5 separate regions of the Homo sapiens genome follow, and all the other regions are linked to region 1. The links are contacts of gene promoters, found by promoter capture Hi-C in blood cells and fetal thymus (Javierre and others, 2016). All regions are on one chromosome and are shown on one strand. The core of a region is centred on a gene start or on the middle of the fragment in contact, and the rest is flanking DNA. Distances in the headings are between cores, read along the strand shown.

Region 1 (2,700 bases), core at 117-2,616:
CAGCTGTGGGAGACAGAAGCAGGGGGAGGGAGAAGGAGTGAGACTCAGAGGCCTGCGGGGCGAGCGGGGGCGCCCGGGGAGCTGGGCGGCGGCGCCACGGGGCGGGGCGGGCCTGGGGAGAGGGTCTGCGAGCGAGGGCCGGGCCGGGCGCGGCAGCTGGCGGAACTGCGCCCACACTGCCGCTGGGTCCCGGGGTGCGCCGCAGGCCCTGCGGAAGGAGTTCACCCAGGACCCCTGCGGGAGAAGGTGACGTCTCTGGAGTCGGGGCTGTGACTCGCCACTTCCCTCTAATGTCCCCCTCCTCCAGGCCCAGGAAAAAACTTATTCCTTTAGTTTGGGGGAACTTCGCTTGGGACGGGTTTCTGGCGATGGCGCCGCGGGGTAGGAGAGGGGAGCGCGGATTCTAAAGGAGGGGCTGCAGTTGGCGCTCTCTCCGTAGCCCCTCCCTCCCGGGGAGGGCACCCAGGGAAGAGGCAGGAAGAAAGATCCGGGATCGGGAGCGCCAGGGCGCCGTGCGCCCTCACCGGATGGGACAGAGGCGAAGTGGGACCCGGGCAGCCAGGGCTTCAAAGAAAACAGCCCGGCGTGGGGGGCGGGGAAGACCCAGCAGAGACCAACTCCTGGCTGGAAACTGGGGATCAGAGGAAAAGTAAAGGACCCAGAGGGGACTCCAGGAGCAAATCCAATCCGAGAGAAAACACGGAGCTCCGAAGGGCGAGCGTGGAAGGAGACCCTTCCACGGGGAAGCCTGGGGAAGCCCTGGTGGGCTCTGATCCCTCGGTTTTCTTCCCCTCCTCACTCAGCCCGCCAGCGTGACCAGACTTGGGTGTCGCACCGAGCCCCGGGGCGCTGGGAGCTGGGTCAGGGTCCCGGTCGCGGTGGGAGGAATGGGGCCGGCGCCCGGGGGCAGCGGCCGGGGACTGACCTCAATGGGGCTGACGGGAGTGGAGGACAGCGGCTGCAGGTACTCCGGGTGCAGGAGGTGACCGGTGTGAGCGCTCAGCATCTTCAGGACCCTGATCGGGAGCCGGTTCGCCTGGCGCAGGGGGTCCGCCGGTGGCAAGAGGGACACCGCTGCCGGCACCGCCGGCCTCTTCCCGCCGCCGCCGCTGCCGCTGCCGCTGCTTTCGGGTGTCCTTGGGTTAGATCCAGCGGGCGAATCGCTCATTTGGAGGAGGCAGCGCCGCTGGGGGGGCGGGGAGGGCGGGGGAGCACCGGGGAGGCGAGCTCCCGGGGCGGGTGGGCTCGCTCCGCAGCGTCGATCGCGGTGCAGCGGGAGCTGCGCCTCCTCGCCGCCTCCCCTCCTCCACCGACGCCTCCGCCGCCGCCGCCACCGCCGCTGGCCCCGGCTAGCAACACAAAAACCTTCGCCTTCCTCGAGCCGCACGTCAAATAGCCGCGATCGGCAGCCACACTTCAAAGGGATCGCCGCGCCCGCCCAATCGCAGCTCTCGCCGGGACCCCGGGGCGGGGAGAGCGGCGGGCTGAGGCCGGCTCCATCGGTGGGCGGGGAGAGCCTTAAAGGGGCCGCGCCGCGCGCCGCCGCTGCCTCGGTCTCGGCCGCTCCCGGGATTCCTCCCCTCCCCCCGACTGGGCCTTCCTCGCCCTGGGGTCCCCCGCCTGGGACGGGACTTCTCCGGGACCCTGAGCTCTGCGCCCCGTCCTCCTTTCCGGCCGCTCTCTCTCCTCTCTCCCTTCTCACCACTGGGTGGGTGGGGGGTGATGCTGGCGGGGGCTGTAACCCCGCCCGCCGTGTGTGTCCGAGGTGGGGTGGGGTGGGGTGGGGTGGGGTGGGAGGGATCGCACGGCGCGGGCTCTGGGACGCTGGAGTTCAAGCCTCTCCCAGAGGCCGCCTGGGGGCAGGCCTCGCCTCGGGAGCCCGGGTCCTTCTCCAGAGCTGCTCCGGCTCTCCTCGGCCCCGCTCTCCTTCCCCTACTTGGCCTCCCCTTGGTGTGTTCACTTGGAAGCGCCCGAGCCTCGGAGGCACCCACTGTTCTCGGGACGCGGCGTAGGCAGCTCCAACTACTTTGAGCCCGTCTTGTCTGAAGCCTGCAAGTTTGTCTCCCTTCTGGAGTGACATGGTCGGCGACCAAGCGCGGGACCCCAGGCTGTGCGCGCTGTGCCTGCGCCCTGCGTTAGAGGCTCGGTGTCTGGTGTGTTACAGGCTTCTTACCGTGTCCTGCTGAGGGGCGTGAAGTTCCTCACTGTACCGCGCCCAGCTGCTACGAGGAGAGACCGAGATCACGGGCGAGGCGGGTGTCCCTGGAGGGGGATCTCTCTCTAAGCGCTGCTCGGCAACACAACCCCTCCGCCCCCCCATCCTTCTCACTCCGGGGGAAAAAGCACTTGCTTTCCCCAGGCAAATTTCGGGATAAAAACTTTTAATTAAAAATAACAATACCCTTCCCGACTCCCTGCGCCTTTCTGATACAGTGTGCATTGCTAGCTTCGCCCTGGGCAGAGATTTTACGTAGTCATAGTCCTGACATCCAAGTTCCGGATCCGCCGCTTTTCCGGAGGCGAAGTTGGTCCTTTGGGTGCCGAACTCTGGGGAGCCCACTTCTCCGTGCGCTCGGCGGCCAGTGGAGGCGCGCTGGTGTCACTGCCTGGCTCCCAGCACCACTTTTCCAGTCCCGATCCATCACTCCGGTTGTCAGGGCTGTCACTCGGGGCGTATTGCTCTAGGATGGCAGGTTCCCG
Region 2 (2,700 bases), core at 131-2,630, 330 kb after region 1:
AAGTGAGAGGGCTGGGCTGGGTATTCCCTGAAAGGGTGCATAAGAAACACCTGAGGGTTTTTTCAAACTTTATATTTTCTTTTTTAAATTTCAACTTTATTTTATTTATTTTATTTGATTTTTTACTTTAAGTTCTAGGATATATGCACTGAACTTGCAAGTTTGTTACATAGGTATGTATGTGCTATGGTGGTTTGCTGTACCTATCAACCCATCATCTGGACTTTAAGCACTGCATGCATTAGGTATTTGTCCTAATGCTTTCCCTCCCCTTTCCCCTCACCCCTCGACAGGCCCTACTGTGTGTTGTTCCCCTCCCTGTGTCCATGTGTTCTCATTGTTCAACTCCCATTTATGAGTGAGAACATGCAGTGTTTGGTTTCCTGTTCCTAGGTTAGTTTGCTGAGGATGATGGTTTCCAGCTTCATCCATGTCCCTGCAAAGGACATGAACTCATTCTTTTCCATTCTTATTTTAAATACAGAGGATATATATGCAGATGTGTTACATGGGAATATTGTGTGATGCTGAGGTTGAGAGTACAGATTCTGTCACCCAGGTAGTAAGCACAGGACCCGAGAGGTAGTTTTTAAACTCACCCTCCCACCCTCTGGCATTCCCCAGTGTCTATTGTTCCCACCTTGATGTCCATGTATGCTCAGTGTTCAGCTCCCACTTACAAGTGAAAAAGTATGATATTTGGTTTTCTGTTCCTGTGTTAATTTGCTTAAGATTATGGCCTCCAGCTCCATCCATGTTGCTACAAAGGACATGATTTCATTCTTTTTATGGCTGCATAGTATTCCAGGTGTATATGTATCACATTTTCTTTATCCAATCTACCATTGATAGGCACCCGGGTTGATTCCATGTTTTTGCTATTGTGAATAGCTCAGCAATAAACACATGAGTGCATGTGTCTTTTTGGTTGAATGACCTATTTTCTTTTGAGTATATACCCAGTAATGGAATTGCTGGGTCAAATGATAGCTTTGTTTTACATTCTTTGAAAAATCTCTGGACTTCTTTCCACAGTGGCTGGACAGATTTACATTCTCACCAGCAATGTATAAGCATTCTCTTTTCTCCACAGCCTCACCAACATCTGTTATTTTCTGACTTTTTAGTAATAGCCCTTATGACTGATGTGAGATGGTGTCTCATTTTGGTTTTGATTTGCATTTCTCTGATGATTAGTGATGATGAGCATTTTTTTCATATGTTTCTTGGCCACTTGTATTATATTATTTTCTTCTGGAATTTATATATTTGGGAATCAAACCTCTTCCCCTGCATTTTTTTCCCCCACCACATTGAGAGTTTTAGGGCTAAAGGATGTCCAAGTTCTCTTGATGCGCTGATGACCCGTGAGCACATGACTTTGCTTAAGCTACCAAAGCATTTCCTGCCCTGCAGGACTAAGAGGGACATGCCTGCTTGGAGAGTTTCAGCCCTGATTTCCTGGAGTGGGGAGTTGCCCAAAATGGCTTTTGGTGTGACTTCCTCTTTCAGATTTCTTCTGGAGCTGCAGGCTCTTTTCTGCAAGATGTGTCTAACCACAGTGACATGTGCCTTGTGAGTAGTGTGAGGGGATTATTCATCAACATGATGGACCAATGTATTGAAATAGGGATGATTTAGCAGTGGGAAAATCCACCAAATGCCATCTTGCCTTCTCTCTTCTGGACTCCTAATTGGGCTGTGGGCTGGGAAAATTGACCCAGTATTCTCGTGAATCTCTCACCCGCCCTGTAGCCTGTCTCCCCAAGGGTCTGATGCATCTGGGGTGTTGCTGCAGGTGGCTCTGTTGGGTGCTTCAGTCTCAGAGCCCAGTTGCCAGTGGATGGGGATCTTTAGAGGGTCTGCAGGTTCAAAAAAGTCCTTTCTTCTCACAGGTGGGCAACTTTATGGGGCTTATTTAAGGTGCATGTCTGGACCCCCATTCCTGGCTAACTCTCCCTTCCCCAGCCCCTGAGCTGTGTCTGCTGGGGTCAGTCCTGCCAGGAAGATTCCCCAGGCTTTTCCCAGGCCTCCTGTCACTCCTCTGTCCCCAACCTGGGTGGAGAAGAGTCGGTTAGGCCAGAGGCAGAAGGTGGGGGCATAAAAAGACTGATCTGGAATAAACTGAAAAGTTTACTCTGTGCAGCACTGAAATAAAAAAGCTCATTCAGAAAGTTAATGATTTATTTTATAGTTTCATTATCAGGGTCACATTACTCAATAGCATTTCAAACATGTCATTTGTACAAACTATGGTAATTAAAATTTATAACATACTTCATCAGCAGCATATGAATCTTTTAGCCGGCACTCTGCTGTCATATAAACAGTGTAATTTCAGCTGCAATTCACCCTTTATTGGCTCTCATTTGTGATTTAACAGCCATCAATGACTGTGCTATAAAGAATAAATTAACCATCCGTAAACCTTACGATGACAGGGACAGTCAAATAGACTTAAACGCCTTCCGCCCAGCGCTGGGAGCCGACCTAGAGCAGGTGAAGGCCACGTATGCATCAGGCCCACTGCTGAAAGGACTTTCCTCTCTCCTGCTGCTGCCTCTCAGTGGGATGGCTCCCGGCTGGACCCGAGGTCCCTCTAGCTGCCACTAGCAGGAGCATCAGCTTTTCTGCTCTTTGGTTAGGGAGGCAAAGGGAGATGGGCCCCTTTGCAGACCCATTTAAGATGTCTGTGCCCAA
Region 3 (2,700 bases), core at 191-2,690, 370 kb after region 1:
ATACAGACTTGGATTTCTTTGGGGCTTTGGAGGAGTCCTTTCTCTGTTATTGTTAGGCATGTTCATTGGACAAACAAAGTAAGCACAATGAGATGAATTTAATACCTGTCAGGCCTCAGAACAAATGTCATTGATCTTGCTGATACTATATAAAAAGCAGGAAAGTGGATCTGGTTTGGTCCTATGGCAATTTACAGGCCTTTGGCCTCCCTAGTTAATTTTCACTAGGACAGACATTATTTTGCCTGCTGGGAGGAGAAGTAGCTACTCACAAAAGCTGCCTGTGCTGTGCCATTAGGAAAGGGACTCAGAAGGAGGGCATCTTACATGTGCAAAAACTGGAGGAGTAACAAGCAAAGAGGGAGGAGGTGGGGATATAGTTGAACTTCATGTTAGCAGAGTTCAATACATGGAAACCATAGGTCCTCTCTTGTCTCTAACTGCCCCCGCCATATAGATAAAATTAAGGGGAGTTATTCATAGGGCAGAAGGAGGGTTTCCTCCCTTTTGATGACCCCTAGAAATATCCTGCTTCCCAAATAGGTATACTGAATAACTTACACTCGACTCAAGCTGTATTAACAACTTATAAGAGAAGTTGGGAAGGCAAAAAGATGCTCTTGGAATGTGTTGTTTTATGGCTATAGAATGATGAATTTTACTCCCAACTACCAAAAATGGAGGGATTTGCTTAGAGGGTTGATGGTGATAACAGCAGCATGTTTTAACTTATTGGCAGGTTGGGTCTTCTTTAAAATTTTGTCTGAGGCCATGGGAAAGATCTCTGGCTAGGAGATCTTCCGTAGCCCCTCCCATAGGAAGGGCTATGGAAGAGTCCCTATGGGCTTAATGTGTGGGATAAGAGGACCCAGCCAAACAAGCCGAGAGAGGCAAGTTTTTCCTTTCATTCAGACAGTAGCTGTAGCTTCTGGTTGGTGTGAAAAAGTCTGCCACAACTTTTGGTCGTCAGTTTTAATCTTGTTTGGAGCATCAAGGTATCTCATCTTCTGTATCAGTTATCTGTTGCTCTATATGACATTACCCAAAGTGTAGTGGTTACTATCTTGCAGTTTATGTGGGACAGGAATTTGGGAACAGCTTATATATGGGTGATTCTGACTCAGCATCTTTCATGAGGTTGCATTTAAGACATTGGCTAAGTTGACATCCTCTGAAGCTTGAGCAGGGCTAGAGAAGTTCTTCCCAAGATGACTCACTTCCTAACATGGCCTTGGTTCCTCTCTGGCTATTGGCAGGCTATTGCCACATGGACCTCTGAAAAAGTTTGCTTGAGTTTTCTTACCATGTGGCAGCTGATTTCCTCAAAAGCAAGTGATCCAAGATATAGCCAGGAGAAAGCAATAATGCTCCTTTTGACCTGGGAGTCATATACCATCACTTTTGCCATATTCTATTTGATAGAAGTGAATCACTATGTCTAGCTCACTCTCAAGGAAAGGAGAATTAATCTTGACTTCTGGAAGGGATATGTACAAAGAATTAGCCAAGATACTTTGAATCTCCATTTCTTCTTATTTCTATTCCTAATTATTCATAGAAAAATCATAGTGCTGAACTTTTAATTTCCATTTTCATACCATGAATTATCAAAATTTGATGTTGAAATGGAACTAGATGAAATACAAATAAATGTGATTACAGACATTTATTAATTATGCAAAACCAAATGATATAAAGCTTTGTTTTGACTACTTCCCCTTTATGATTCTTCTTCTTGGGTTATACTGGATAAGGCCCCTCTTCTACCTTGTGGATTTTCCTTGTAGACTTTTTCCATTGCCCCAGGGACCTTGAATTTGCTTTCAAATTTATGGTCATTCATTTAGAAAATATTTAGGAAATTTGCACGGCCAGTTCAATGAGGTTGTTCAATGGAAGTTTTTGAATCGCAAATAATGGGGGAAGTGTAGTTAAAGTAGCACCTCCTCCTCCTTCTTTGCACTGGCCAGTCCCTGCTCTAAATGCAGAGCGGATCAAGTCAGTTGAGATGCTGCTAAACTTTACCAGCCAGCTGGCCAGTGTCTCATTGAGCATCAATATTGGGACTGGTTGTTTACTGGATGGTGAGAAAAGAAAAGAACTTTTATCTGAGGAATGGGAGTCCTTTTAATTAGCAGGCCCAGAGAGATATTAAAATGAGACAGCAATCACATCCTACTTCCCCCTTGAGCTACGTATTCTTCTCTTGAAACTGCTTGCTATTACTACAGGCTATAAATTAACCTCATAATGCCACACCAGACACTATCAGCCACAACCTATTGCTTAACAATGTCTAGCCAATCACTAATCAATGTTATTTCTGTAAACCAGTGAGAATTCCTGACGAACAACTTTGTATCAATCCACTCCTTGTCCCCTGTTTTGCCTTTAAAAATCCACTTGTAACTGCTGCTAATCAAAGTGTATATTCAGGACAACTTGATTCTGTGCTCCCGAGTTGCAATTTCAAGTTTGGCCCAAATACCTTTCTACTTACACTAATGTGGCCTCAGATTCTTCCTTTTAGGTCAACAATAGCTATGAATGTGTTTTGGTTGTTTAATAGAGGGAGTTTCAAGGCAAGTTGTCATAGTCCGGGCATTATCCATACAAAAACTGGAGACTCTTAGCAGGCCACAGATTAAGGATGACATTCAAGTACGCGAAGCTGGCTCTACCTGAAGCCTTCCCAAGTCC
Region 4 (2,700 bases), core at 189-2,688, 360 kb after region 1:
TTGCCACAAAACCTTCTGGCTTGGTGTTAGGAAGATTGGTTAGGATAGGCAAAAAGACAAAAGAAAAAGTTCCATGACCTTGTTGGGATAGTTAAAAGGAAAGGGTTTGTGTTTCTGGAGACCCCTTCAACTCTTCTAATATCTATGAAGTACAGAAGATATTCATATTCTCACTGTATAAATAAGGAAGCTGATTCGGAGGGCAGATCTAAATAAGAGAAACTAAGGCAAGGAGAAATTGTGGGTGTTCAGGGTCACAGAGTTAACTGCAGCCCTGGAACCTGTGAAGTTTCTGTAGATGTCAGCATGCCTGATAGGCATCAAAGAAGCAAAGTCGCTATGGATGAAACAGATTTGGTGAGTATCCCATGAGAACCATGATTCCTGTGCAATGTATTATTAGGAAGCTTGGATGTTTCTGCAGAAGACAGTAGTTCTGATTGACATTTCCTTGGGTTGCAGTGGTGAGATGTGATGGGGTAAGGACAGCTCTTGGCACTGACCACACCCACCCCTGGCAGCCTCCACATCACTTACTAGAAAGTGAGTTGCCAAGTGTCCTGGCTTGAATTAGGAGTCAAGAAGATGCAACCAACCCATGCACAGAAAACTCAGCCGCCAGATCAGCTCTTTCTAGTAATGCAACTAGACAGCCCCTACAAACCTGGGATTTATACTGGTAAATCTTGGTCTCATGAGGGCCCAGCTCAATTTGTGCAGAAATTCCACCAATGGTGGAGAGTTGATTTAGTGTCAGAAAAGGGTGTTTGAAACAAGTGCATTTTCCTTTACGAGTCTTTTAACATCAGGAGAGAAATACAGCTGATTGCAATTGATTTGTGTACGTGGCTGTTTGTGTGAAGTGTCACAGCATGTTTGATGGGAACATAGAAACAAAGAAGGAGAAAGGCCAGAAATTGCTCTTCTGGAAGGTGCGAAGCAGAGAGTACAAGAAAATGCATCTTACAGAATAGGGCTTGGCCCTCCAGGTTACTGTGCATTGACTCTGGACTCAGTCCCTTAATCGCTGTGTGACTCAGTCCCTTAATCGCTGTGTGACTAACAGCAAGTTTCTTGAGGTCTCTAAGCCTTGGTTTCAACATCAGTAAAAGGGGAATAATGAGTGTCTGCCTTATGAGCTGTAGGGAAGATTAAATCAGTGCATCTGAAAGGCTGATTTTCTTCTACTTCAACTTCCTCCCTAAAAGCTACTTCCAGGAAAAGGCCTTATAAAAGTCTATCTTACTTAACATAGCAGTCTAATGATAGTTTGGAGAGTGTCCCATATGGGAGAGCCCACAAAAGAGACTTAAAATGTTCCTTTTCTGTACAGAGTTCTTTATTGTTATTTATTTATTTATTTATTTTGAGACGGAGTTTCACTCCTGTTGCCCAGGCTGGAGTGCAATGGCTCCATCCTGGGTCACTGCAACCTCTGCCTCCTGGGTTCAAGCAATTCTCCTGCCTCAACCTCCCAAGTAGTTGGGATTACAGGCACCCGCCACCACACCCAGCTAACTTTGTATTTTTAGTAGAGATGGGGTTTTGCCATGTTGGTCAGGCTGGTCTTGAACTCCTGACCTCAGGTGACCTGCCCGTCTTGGCCGTTCAGAGTGCTGGGATTACAGGCTTCAGCCACCGTGCGAGTTCTTTATTATTTAAAAGACACTTGCAACCATCTTACCACATTTAACTACCTCAAAGTGTCCCATGAGTTCTATAAGTCAGGTGTTATTTATTCCTCTTCTAAAATGAAACATGGACATAGAAAAGTAAATTTCCAAAATTCATATTTTTGTTCCTTAAACATAGTTTGAGGGATACATAAATGACTTATTAAGAATCACACAGTTAATGAAGTAAGAACCTGGGATGAGATTTTGTGTTGTCTGACTCCAAGTGTAGTGTATTTAATAAGAGGAAAGAACTTTAAGGTACAGAAAAGACTAATTGCAGAATTTCAACATAAGCGAACACATCAAAGAGTGGAGGGTTTTTCCAGGGTCTCTGCTCTAACATTCTGTAGAGACCCAGCTGTCCATGGAAAGGCTCACCCCTGCCAAGATGTATTATACCAACGGCAAGACTTTCAACCTTCTCTTGGTCTTAATCTTTCTGAGTGTGTCTCCCTTCATTGTCTCTTCTAATAAATAAATTAGAAAATATGTCTAGAAAACAGTTATGGAAAATATGTCTAGAAAATAATATTAGAAAATAATAATAGACATACTACAAAATATAATAGAAATGTCTTGAAAATAATATTAGAAAATGACAATGAACATTTTTATCTATTGTGATGTAATAAGTTACCCCAAAACTTAGTGACTTAAAACAAATCACATTTATTATCTCATAGTTTCTGTGAGTCAGGAACCTGGCCATCACTTAGCCGGGCTCTCTGCTTCTGGGTTGGCCGTGAGGCTGTAGTCAAGGTGATGGCTGGGCCTGCAGTCATCTCCAAGCTTAACTGGGGGTGGATTGACTTCCAAGCTCATCAAGAGGTTATTGGCAGGGTTCAGTCCCTGTGGACCTCAGTTTCTCAGTGGCTGCAGGCTGGAGGCTGCCCTCCTTGCTATGTGAGCTTCTCAGTAGGGCAGCTCACCACATGGTGGCTTGCTTCATCAAAGAGAGAGAGAGAGAGAGAGAGCAAGTGAATATGAGACAGAACTCACAGCCTTTTGTAATCTAATCTCTGAA
Region 5 (2,700 bases), core at 35-2,534, 280 kb after region 1:
GTAGCATTTTTCCAAGCATGTTTTTTGGAACACTACTCCCATGTCAAATATATTTGGAAATACTTGGTATCACACGCCCCTCTCAAGACTTCATGATGCTCATCAGCACTGAAGGTTCTGAGAAGTGTTGTGGCTTAACCTATTGCTTCTTGAACTTGTTTCACTCTGGAGTCCTTTATCCAACCAACATCTATTACTATCTTTGAACATTGGTGTTCTGCGGGAGAATGTTTTGGGAAATGATGACACATAGAATGGTTATAATTAGGTTAAAATTCCACTAGAATATAGAGAAATAGCTGGAAGAAAAATATAACAAAATTCAAGTAGAGACCATGGGTAGCAATGACGTAAAAAGATTATTTAATAAATCTTTCTTTTTTCATGCATCTGCCAGAAATTATTTGATATGCATAGATTATTTTATTAAATAATTTTATAAAGGTCTTGGTCTAAATAAGTTTGTATTTTTATTCAGTTTATAACATATAAGTTTCAGAATTTGCGCTTTCTGCCTAATGGATAAAATATCCATATAACCCAGTAGGATATTTGATAAGAGTCTGATGGCCTGTTAATACTATGTAATAAATAATAGTATTTATTCTACCATGATGACAATTTCAGAGTGTGAATTTGGACTTGGGAACAGCCTACTTCATGACAACCAAAAAGAAAGAGTCTTTTAAGAACTAGTAAACAACTAATAGTTAAAGGTGTGCCAGGCACTATACAGATCACTTTATACACATTAACTTATTTAATCCTCTCAGCAACTGCATGAGGTAGGTAGGTAGTATGATCACTGTCATTTTACAGATGAGTAAACTTAGCCACAGGGAGGTTAGGTGACATGCTCAGTTCCAAGTCCTCCATCTCTAGAGACCAGATTCTGATGAGTACCCAGTGCTGCCTCCTACTTAGGGAGCCAGTGATTCCACCACATCAGCAGGCAGGATTTCACAGCTGCTGATTTAACCTAGATCCCAAACCATTCTTGCCTGTGAGAGTGACAGAGCCCTTTCCTCTGGGGTTGGTAAGCTGGAACCACACAGGCCCCTCATGTCCTCTGGCCATATCCTCTAGTAGGTGAGAAGGTAAAGAGGGTGCAGACTAGAGGAGGAGGGGGTATGAGTCCCACTTCTGGCCTCCAAGGGCCCAAGAGGTAGCCTTGCTTCTCTAGCTGTTTCTGTGGACTCTGGTGAGGAATCCTGTGTATTTCTTCCAGAACATCTTCTTTTTTCTTTTTTTTTAAATGTTTCTTTATACACCTTTTAGTTTTAAATTTTTCTTTAAGAGGTTGTTATAAGAGGCCATTGTAGGGTGTCTTTCACAATGATGTTTTTGGACCAGATTATACTTTAGATGGGCTGTGATGCTTACCTGGTAATATCAAGTAAGTTTAGAAACCTGCTTATACACTTGAGGTACCCAGAGGCAGAGGATGAGCTAAAGGGCCACTCAAGGTCACTTCCATCCTCTGTACTCTGGGATGTTTTGGATATCAGGTGTCGGAAGAATGTGGCTAGCCAAATTACCATCTAGAAATGGGCTACTCCTGGGTGTGAGAGACAGAGGCAGGAAGGCTAAGGAAACAGGAGCAAAGAAGCTGCTCTTCATAGGTTTTATTTTATTTTGTTTTTTCTTTTTTAAAATTAGTATATATTTATGGGGTACAACTGTAACTTTGCTACATTGATATTGTGTTAGTCTGTTCTTGTGCTGCTATAAAGAAATACCTGAGGCTGGGTAATTTACACAGAAAAGAGGTTTATTTGGCTCACAGTTCTGCAGGCTGTACAGGAAGCAGGGCACCAGCATCTGCTTGACTTCCAGGGAAGCCTCAGGATGCTTTTACTCATGGCAGAAGGTGAAGGGGGAGTGGACGTGTCACATGGTGAGTCAGGGAGCAAGAGAGAGGGGAGGGAGGTCCGAGCCTCTCTTAAACAACCGGCACCCCTGTGAACTCATTAATCATCCATTACCACTCATTACCATGGGGAGGACACCAAGCCATTCATGGGGAATCTGCCCCCGAGAACCAAACACCTCCCACTAGGCCCACCTCCTGCTGAGCCCACTCTTCTTCAATGCAACATTGGAGGTCACATTTCACATGAGATTTGGAGGGGACACACATCCAAACCATAACACGTATGTTGCATTGTGGTAAAGTCAGGGCCTTCAGTGCCTCCATCACTGGAGCAACGCACATTGTACCCACCAAGCAATCTCCCATCATCCACCATCATAGGTTTTAAAGCCAAGGATTACAAAGAGATAAATCTGGGTTTGGCATGTCCATTCCTTGCTCTTTTATCCTCAAGTGACTTGGAGAGGACCAGTTGGCACCATTCTTGGAGGTCAAGACAGCCTACCATTGGCTTGAAGCCTACAGTTAAATCAATTCATCCTCTCTCCTAGACTTTCCCACTCTGGACTAATTAATTCTGGGCCCTGCAGTTGTTTCATAGGCCCTCCTCTCCAACTCTTTGTATCACTTCTCCATTCACATTTCCAAGTTAGCTGTTTGGCTCCAAAGAGGGTGCAGTGCCGAGTTGGGGTCAACTCTCGAATCTCATGGGATGGTTCCTTGCTGGGTCTCTGTTGTGTTGCTTGCCCATAGTTTCTCATTCTACCCTCATGCTGACTGTTTTCAAAAGACACAACACATAGCAGGCACAGTCCCACCACACTGCA

Evidence for each region. The method cuts DNA at HindIII sites, captures the fragments that hold promoters and counts their contacts. A CHiCAGO score of 5 or more calls a contact.
Region 2: a contact is called between a fragment that was not itself captured here and the fragment with the promoter of ZNF703 in region 1, in 5 of 17 cell types (monocytes, M0 macrophages, M2 macrophages and 2 more). The highest score is 10.1, in monocytes.
Region 3: a fragment that was not itself captured here is called in contact with the fragment with the promoter of ZNF703 in region 1 in 4 of 17 cell types (M2 macrophages, M1 macrophages, M0 macrophages and 1 more); the score reaches 16.6 in M2 macrophages.
Region 4: a fragment that was not itself captured here is called in contact with the fragment with the promoter of ZNF703 in region 1 in 4 of 17 cell types (M1 macrophages, M2 macrophages, M0 macrophages and 1 more); the score reaches 9.4 in M1 macrophages.
Region 5: a contact is called between a fragment that was not itself captured here and the fragment with the promoter of ZNF703 in region 1, in 7 of 17 cell types (monocytes, naive B cells, total B cells and 4 more). The highest score is 9.5, in monocytes.

What each region holds. Positions count from the first base shown.
Region 1 is chr8:37,694,448-37,697,147 of GRCh38, reverse strand. ZNF703 (zinc finger protein 703) reads right to left here and starts at 1,366. Exons shown (of 2, transcript NM_025069.3): 1 at 926-1,366; 2 at 1-3. The coding sequence starts at 1,168. LOC124901932 (a long non-coding RNA gene) reads right to left here. Exons shown (of 2, transcript XR_007060887.1): 2 at 2,365-2,700. LOC124901933 (a long non-coding RNA gene) reads left to right here and starts at 1,467. Exons shown (of 2, transcript XR_007060888.1): 1 at 1,467-1,708; 2 at 2,165-2,403. RefSeq lists enhancers at 435-977, 978-1,521 and silencers at 1,256-1,355, 1,406-1,755, 2,543-2,700. The HindIII fragment of the contact is 16,475 bases long and covers 1-2,700 here.
Region 2 is chr8:37,360,328-37,363,027 of GRCh38, reverse strand. No RefSeq gene overlaps it. Among named protein-coding and RNA genes, the nearest start is that of LINC01605, 240 kb to the left of the region's middle. The HindIII fragment of the contact is 5,070 bases long and covers 1-2,700 here.
Region 3 is chr8:37,319,805-37,322,504 of GRCh38, reverse strand. No RefSeq gene overlaps it. Among named protein-coding and RNA genes, the nearest start is that of LINC01605, 280 kb to the left of the region's middle. The HindIII fragment of the contact is 521 bases long and covers 1,180-1,700 here.
Region 4 is chr8:37,336,882-37,339,581 of GRCh38, reverse strand. No RefSeq gene overlaps it. Among named protein-coding and RNA genes, the nearest start is that of LINC01605, 260 kb to the left of the region's middle. The HindIII fragment of the contact is 2,058 bases long and covers 410-2,467 here.
Region 5 is chr8:37,413,029-37,415,728 of GRCh38, reverse strand. The region is part of intron 4 of LINC01605 (long intergenic non-protein coding RNA 1605); the gene reads left to right. Among named protein-coding and RNA genes, the nearest start is that of LINC01605, 190 kb to the left of the region's middle. The HindIII fragment of the contact is 7,799 bases long and covers 1-2,700 here.